Regions from separate parts of the Homo sapiens genome. Here region 1 is linked to region 2. Evidence: promoter capture Hi-C in 16 types of primary human blood cells and fetal thymus (Javierre and others, 2016). All regions are on one chromosome and are shown on one strand. Each heading gives the region's core, a stretch centred on a gene start or on the middle of the fragment in contact. The rest is flanking DNA. Distances are from core to core; before and after follow the strand shown.

Region 1 (3,846 bases), core at 933-3,432, 370 kb after region 2:
CAGAGTATAATTTTTTAAAAGCCAACCCCATGATGAACCAAAATTTATCCATTCATTAATCCACTTACTCAAGAAAGACATAAGATGCCAGAGATACAATGATGAGCCTTGGTCAAAAGAAAAAAAAATGTTTTTTTGGTTTTTTTTTTTTGCAGAAGTTTACTTACAAGTATTAAGTCACAGATACTCCTGATAGGAGGCAAATATGCTTCTTGTTTTTTCACCTCTTGGTAGAACTTTATATGTAGTCTTATCTGACTTTACTCCAATAATTTAATATTTGTAAAAGGGATTCAGTATAGAGCCTTATATCGATACTGTGCTATCAGTTTTTAGAAATAAAATGAACAAGGCAGCAAGCTGAAAGAAATACTTCTATTGGTTGTTACTGAAAAGTAGTTAGTTTTCAGCATCTCTTAAGAAAGAATGCGACTTGCTTAGTCCAGTCAGAGAGGAAAATTCTATACACAAAATCCATCAAAGCCATTGTGAGAGGACTTGTTTGCCTGGAGACTGCAGGGTTTTTCTTTGAATAGCCTCCTTCAGGAAGCTGTACATTTCATTAGTTAAGATTCTGCTTTTGAGGGAAGAGTAATCCAGTCATCTACAGTCTCTAAAATTATGTCCAATTAACCACTGGTAAGCATTAACTAAGAAGAAAGATTTGCTGTCAAAATTTACTCTATTAAAATTGGAATTGAAAACTGTAACAATAAAAACTCTAAGCTTTCTTAGAGCCATGTTGTATTATTTGAAAGCACCAGAAAATCTGTTCAGAATCTCTAGTGTAGGAATGCTGAGCTTTTTCTCTGGAGGAGAGCACATTTATGAGTGTTGGCTGAGGGCTCGCTCAGTCTGGGGGTAGGTCACAGGGTGAAATGGAGATTAGCTCAGCACTCATTCTGCTGGCTCTGTTGGCAATGAGATTTTATTTTCTTTACTCTTAGATTCTGTGGGGGAAATTGAGGGTGATATTCAGATGAGTTGAATGCCAAGTATTTGGAAAACCGTGAGAGTTCAACAGTTTCTAAGAGCCCCAATCATTCTGAGCGTTTTGATTGTGCCAGTAATTGTAAATCTCGTTTTAGCAGCCTGCACACAGAGGCTCCACAGAAGACAATGATTCCTCAGAAAAGCTCTATTTGTATTACCTGTACTGAATGAACATGGGCTTTGCTAGATTATTTTATTCTTCTCTCAAATTTAAACTTAAACCCATTGAGTGAATCTTCTAAAACTTGTAATCTAGCAAAAACTTTGAATCTGCAATTTAGCAAAGACTTTGAATATGTTGATGCATAATATAGAACCATCTTACAGGCACTAATTTGAACAGAAAATGTAAGTGTAACACTAAGGGAAACCTATATGAAGATCCTGTGAGCAGGTGAGATTTAAAAAAAAATGTTGAGACAGATTTTTTTTTTTAATACTGGTCAATTATTGCTATTAGGGCAATTTGGGTTGCAAGTGCAGACATCTAAAACAAACTAGTTTAAGCAAAAAAGCAATTGATTATGGGTCCAGCCATGGCTGGATCCAGGGCCTTAACAATATTGTTAGCAATCAGTCTCTCTTACACCTTGCTGCCTCATTCCCCATCTCTGCTCTGCTTTCCTCTATGTCAACTTCATTCTCAGGCAAGGCATTATTTTCGTTGTTTTGGAAAGATAGTCTTCAGTAACTCTGGGTCTAATTCGACCCAGCTAGTAACCTTAAGGAAAAAAAGATTGCCTTCTTCCCAGTGGTTTTAGGAAAAGCCATCCATAGGAATGACATTGATTGGCTTGGCTGGGAAGGGGGTCGGGCCTGCATCTCAGGAAACAAGACTCATATGTAATCATAAAATGTGGGGGGTGCATCCCAGAATGCTGAATTGTATGCGGTTAGCAAAAGAAGAGAGAAAGGATGTCAATTGGGTAAATGTAACAGGTTGCAAGAGTTAAAGTTCAAGTTATATCTAGGGTCAAGATTTTATTGCAATCATTTGTGTGGAAATAAAGTAGATGAGAAATAGTCTCAACCATTTTCATGGAGAAATGCAGCATAATTCCTACACAACTGTAGCTCCAGCAGTCTGACTGCAACTCTGGAGCAAAATAGCCACTCTAAAAATTTGCCACATCTTGGAGTCTTAGAGTCTGGCATGCTTCCTCCTGTAGTATCCAACCATTATGGTGCTTCTGTTTCTTCTGTTTTTGTAGCTACTAACTCATTTCTGCTCTTCATTTGTTCATAGTTTCTATTTATCGTTCTCTCTTTCTGTGTTTGTCATCTTCTGTACTACTATTTTTGTTTTATATTGTATTAATTTCTACTTTCAACATATATTCTTTCTTCTATTTTGTTTGGAGTTTCTCTATGGTCCTTCTTCTAGCAATTTTTTAGTTGAATAGCTCATTAATTTTTCATCTTTCTTGTTTTGTAATATATGCAATTAAGGCTATAAATTGCCTTCTAAGTACTGCATTAGCTGTATCCCACAAGTTTTGACATGCAGTGCTTTCTATGTCATCCAGTTCTAAATATTTTATAATTCTCATTAAAATTTTATTGTGACTTAAGAAACATTGTTATGAAGGCTTATTATATATAAAGTGCATAATTAAGTGAATAACTCAGTGAATTTTACATATGTCTACACTTGTGTAGCTACTGCCCAGATCAAGATATAAAACATTTCCAGCAACCCAAAGAACTTTTCTATACCTCTTTCCCCAAAATACCCCCCAAGAGATAACCGCTATTGACTAATACCATGGATTAGTCTTACCTCTTCTTAATATCATCTAGAAGGAACCATGTGTCCCATTTTGTGACTGATTTCTTTCACTCATCATTATGTCTGTGAGATTTATTCATATTAAAGCAACAGGTTTTTTCCCCCTCTCCATTACTGACAATGAATATACTTATTTGTCCATTCTACTCTCAAGTCATATTTGTATTGCTTCCAGTGTGGGGCTATTATGAGTAAAACTAGTATGAAAGTTCTTATAAATGTCTTTTGCTGGACATTTTTACTCATTTCTGTTGGGAATATAGCTAGCAGTAGAATTTTTGAATTATAGAATAGACATATATTTAGCTTTATTAGATATTTCCAAATTGTTTTTCATAGTGGTTTTTACCAACTTACACTCCCACCAGTATATGTGTGAGAGTTGGTCATTCCACGTTCCATCATATTTGGTATTGTCAGTTTTTTTCTAAATTTTACTTATTTTGGTGTGAAGCGTAGTACCTTAATGTCATTCATGTTTCATTTACCTGCTGACTATAATTCTGAACTCCTTTTTATATGCTAATTGGTCATTTGCATATCTTCTTTTATGAAATGTTAATTCAAACCTTTTTCTGATTTCTAAATTGCATTATTGTCTTTTTATAATTGAGTTGTAAGAGTTCTTTGCATATTCTGCATATGTCTTTTAACAGATATATGTATTGTGAATTTCTTCTCTCAGTTGGTAGTTTGTCTTTTCACTCTCTAAATAATCTCTTTTTATTAACAAAAGTTTGTACTTCAATGAAATCTTTTTTTTTCTCTCATTGGCAGTGCTTTTAGTGTCCTGTTTAAGAAAGGTTTACCCTCCTCAAGGCCATGAAGATTCTCTTATGTATTTTTTAAAAGCTTCACTCTTTTACCTTTACATTTGTTTGTGATCCATTTTATACTGATTTTTTATATTGCATGACAAAAGTATCAAGATTCATTTTCTTTTCCAATTCATGTCATCTGCAAATAATGACGATTTTATTACTTCCATTCCAAACGCTATACCTTTTATTTTTTCTCTTGCCATATTGTACCCATGAATGTTTTTGTAGTGTTTTTTAAAATTT
Region 2 (3,602 bases), core at 627-3,126:
TTTCTGGAAGAAACCATAGGTATTCTCTGTTACGGGGCATTCTCAGGACAATCTCCTAAATGAACCCTGAGAGCCCTGGCATCACTAAGGATTGTCCCTACCCAAAGGAAATGATGGGACTAACCGCCTTTGTTGATCTCAAGTAAGACATGCTAACACTAAAGAACTATTTTCAAAGACAAGGTGATCATTTCACAGAGGATAGAAAACCCAAAACTCTCACAAACCCCATGCTTAGAGCCCCTTTAATCCTCTGATGTGTATCTGTGAATCCTGAGAGTCTAGGACTCATCACGTCATCAAAATAGTCCACTTTCAGTAGAAACCTGAGAGCAGAGAAGGTGACAGCCTCATCTCATTGCTTGGCATTGTTTGTGAGAGAAAGCAAAGAAAGTGAGGAAGCCTTTATATCGTGCTATTTCTTTTCCATGGCAATCAAAATAATTAAAGCGCAGTTCAGCTGAGGACAGGCAAGTGTTCACATACACACTATTCCCACAAACATATACTCTATTTTAAATACACACACAGCCTTTTTTTCACGAAACAAACTTTTTAGCAAACAAAATAAGTTATAATATACTTTTAAGAATATAGCTTGGGTAGAAAGAGTTTGTACTAAAAAGCCTGCAACTTATTATTTTGAAAATCTTGATCCAAGGATCTACATTTTTAAAATAGAGTAGATAATATCTACCTGTATTTTTCATTTTTTCATTCTGTGCCTCTAAATTCCATTTAGAATTTTGAAGTCATGTTGTACCACCCAAATCAAGATAATTTTATTCATCTAGTTAGATTTTCTTCAGTGAAAAAATTACAGGTGATCTTAATTTATGATGAAGTTATGTCCCCATAAGCCTATAGTAAGTTGAAAATGCATTTAATGCACCAAACATCATAGCTTAGCATAGTCTACCTCAAATGTTCTGAGAACACTTACATTAGCCTCCAGTTGGGCAACATCATCTAACACAAAGCCTATTTTATAATAAAATGTTGAAAATCTCATGTAATTAATGGAATACTACACTAAAAGTGAAAAAAATAGAATAGCTCTGTAGGTACTCAAAGTATGGTTACTATTGAATTTGTATCACTTTTGCACCACTGGAAAGTATGAAAATAGTAACTCAAACCACGGTAAGTCGGGGATTTCCTGTAGTAAAAGGAGGTGGTAATATGTACCTAGCAGAGAGTTGTTATTTCACTTCTACTAGAGTGTAACAATTAAGAATACATAGCTATAGGCCGGGTGTGGGGGCTCACACCTGGAATCCCAGCACTTTGGCAGGCTGAGGCAGGTGGATCACTTGAGCCCAGGAGCTCAAGACCAGCCCAGGCAACATGGTGAAACCCCATCTCAACTAAAAATACAAAAAATTGTCCAGGCATGGTGGTGCACACCTGTAGTCCCAGCTACTCAGGAGGCTGAGGTGGGAGAATCACCTGAGCCCAGGAAGTCGAGGCTGCGGCGAGCGGAGATGGCAGCACTGCACTCCAGCCTGCATTGACAGACTGACACCCTGTTTCAAAAAAACAAAAACAAAAACCACCACAACAAAAAACTCAGAATACACAGCTATGTATCAGGAATTATATGCTACCTTCCAAGGTCCCCAGTGGATGCCTGAAACCATGGATAGTATCCTACTCTATATACACTACGGTTTTTCCTGTACATATGTACTTAAGATAAAGTTAATTTATAAATTAGGCACAGTAAGAAATTAACAACAGTAACTAACAATAAAATAGAACAATTATAACAATACATTGTAATTAAAAATATGCAAATATGGTATCTTTCTCTTTCAAAATATCTTATTGTACTGTACTCACGCTTCTTATGATGATGTAAAATGGTCAAATGGCTACGTGATGGGATGAAGTGAGGGCAATAACACAGGTATTGTGACGTAGATGGAAAATTCCAGAAATAAACAACTCTTAAGTTTCAAACTGTGCACTGTTCTGAGTGGTGCGATGAAATCTCTTGCCCTCCTGCTTCGGCCCACTGGATGGCAATGAGTCACCACGTAGTCACCTTGGCGATTAGAGCAACTGTTGCAGTATTGCAGTGCTTGTGTTCAAGTGACCCTTATTGTACTTAATAGTGGCCCCAAAACACAGGGTAGTGATGTAATATTTTTGAACTATAGTTGACCCCGAGTAACTGAAACTGTGGAAAATGAAACTGCAGCTAAGGGAAGACTACTTTACTATACATCTAGACGTGTACTGATTATACAAAATGGTAAAATATTATTAGCTATAACTGTAACATGGACTAAGTCAAGTTGTTAGCATAATAATTTCAAGTTACATGATTCACCCATGTATATGTAAAAGTCTTCCCAAAAGGCTTAGTGAAATTGTAAGATTTAATATTTTTAGAAGTATAAACACTACAGACTTTTATATAAAAGTTTCAAACAAGTTTTATTTAAAAGTGTAATGACTTACATTTATTTTTCATTTATATAGCTTTGTTAATTTAGAGTAACACATTTTAAAATTTTTAGTTTTTAGTTCCTCTGGTTGAAGATGGGAAGCGTTGACTGAAACAAGAAATTAAGTCTTTTCGGACAACTTGAATTTCCAACTTGGGCATAATTATTAAAATGCTTAGTAGATAACTTCAGGATTGTGGCTGTGGCCATTACCAAATTTGAAAGAAAAAAGTGACTTGAAATGAAAGTGCATTGCAGTTCCAGTAACAAATAGATGATAAACTTTATTTATCTTAAGTTTAATTTATTCAGAAACTTACAGAAAAGCTGGAGTTACTATAAAAATATTTTTTTTCCTGAATCAATAGGTTACTGCTTCACTCCTTCATGTATATTTCTTACAACCAAAATATTTTCTACATAAATACAACAAGCCATCAAAGTTGAGAAATTAACAATGATAGCATCTAATCTTCAGACTCCACCCAAGTTTTGCCAATTGTCCCAGTAATGTTAGTCTTTTATGGCGAAAGGAACCAGTTCAGGACCACACACTACATTCAGTTGTCATGTCTCTAAGCTCCTTCAGTCTAGAACAGATCCTCTGTCTTTCCTTGACTTTCATGACCTTGAGACTTGGATATTATTTTTGTGACATGTCCCTCAGTTTGTTTTTTCTTCATTATTAGATTCATGTTATGCAGTTTTGTTAGAAGTATAACAAGAGTAACAATGTAGTTTGTCATTTCATCTTATTAAATGGAATAAAATTTCTATTTATTCCACTGCAATGGAATATCATTGGAATTCATCACTTGATGAAGGTGACATCTGCCAGGCTTTTCCACTGTAAATTACTCATTTTGCCTTCATTATTCAACTGTACTTTGTGGGAAAGTACTTTGAAATTATGTAAATACCCTTCCTCATCAAAATTTTAATTGTTATTTAGCTCATGATTTCTTATTTTATTCCCTTATTGCCTTTATTATTATGATTCTCAAATTTTCCCACATTTGGCCAGTGGGGTTCTCTTCAAGCTGGCTTTTGTGCCCATTTGGTATGTCCCAATTATTTTTTTAGTACTTCCTTGCTTTTTGCTTCAAAAGATGTTCCACTTTTAATTGCCCCTTTCCCTTCCTGTCCTGG

What was found. Contacts are between HindIII fragments. The CHiCAGO score rates a contact against its expected background, and 5 or more counts as called.
Region 1: a fragment that was not itself captured here is called in contact with the fragment with the promoter of ARL14EPL in region 2 in 2 of 17 cell types (naive CD8 T cells and naive B cells); the score reaches 6.3 in naive CD8 T cells.

The regions. Positions count from the first base shown.
Region 1 is chr5:115,658,422-115,662,267 of GRCh38, reverse strand. The region is part of intron 3 of LOC102467217 (a long non-coding RNA gene); the gene reads left to right. Among named protein-coding and RNA genes, the nearest start is that of TMED7-TICAM2, 34 kb to the right of the region's middle. The HindIII fragment of the contact is 2,908 bases long and covers 729-3,636 here.
Region 2 is chr5:116,030,746-116,034,347 of GRCh38, reverse strand. It overlaps ARL14EPL (ARF like GTPase 14 effector protein like), which reads right to left and starts at 1,876. Exons shown (of 4, transcript NM_001195581.2): 1 at 1,843-1,876. RefSeq lists an enhancer at 2,232-2,281. The HindIII fragment of the contact is 15,754 bases long and covers 1-3,602 here.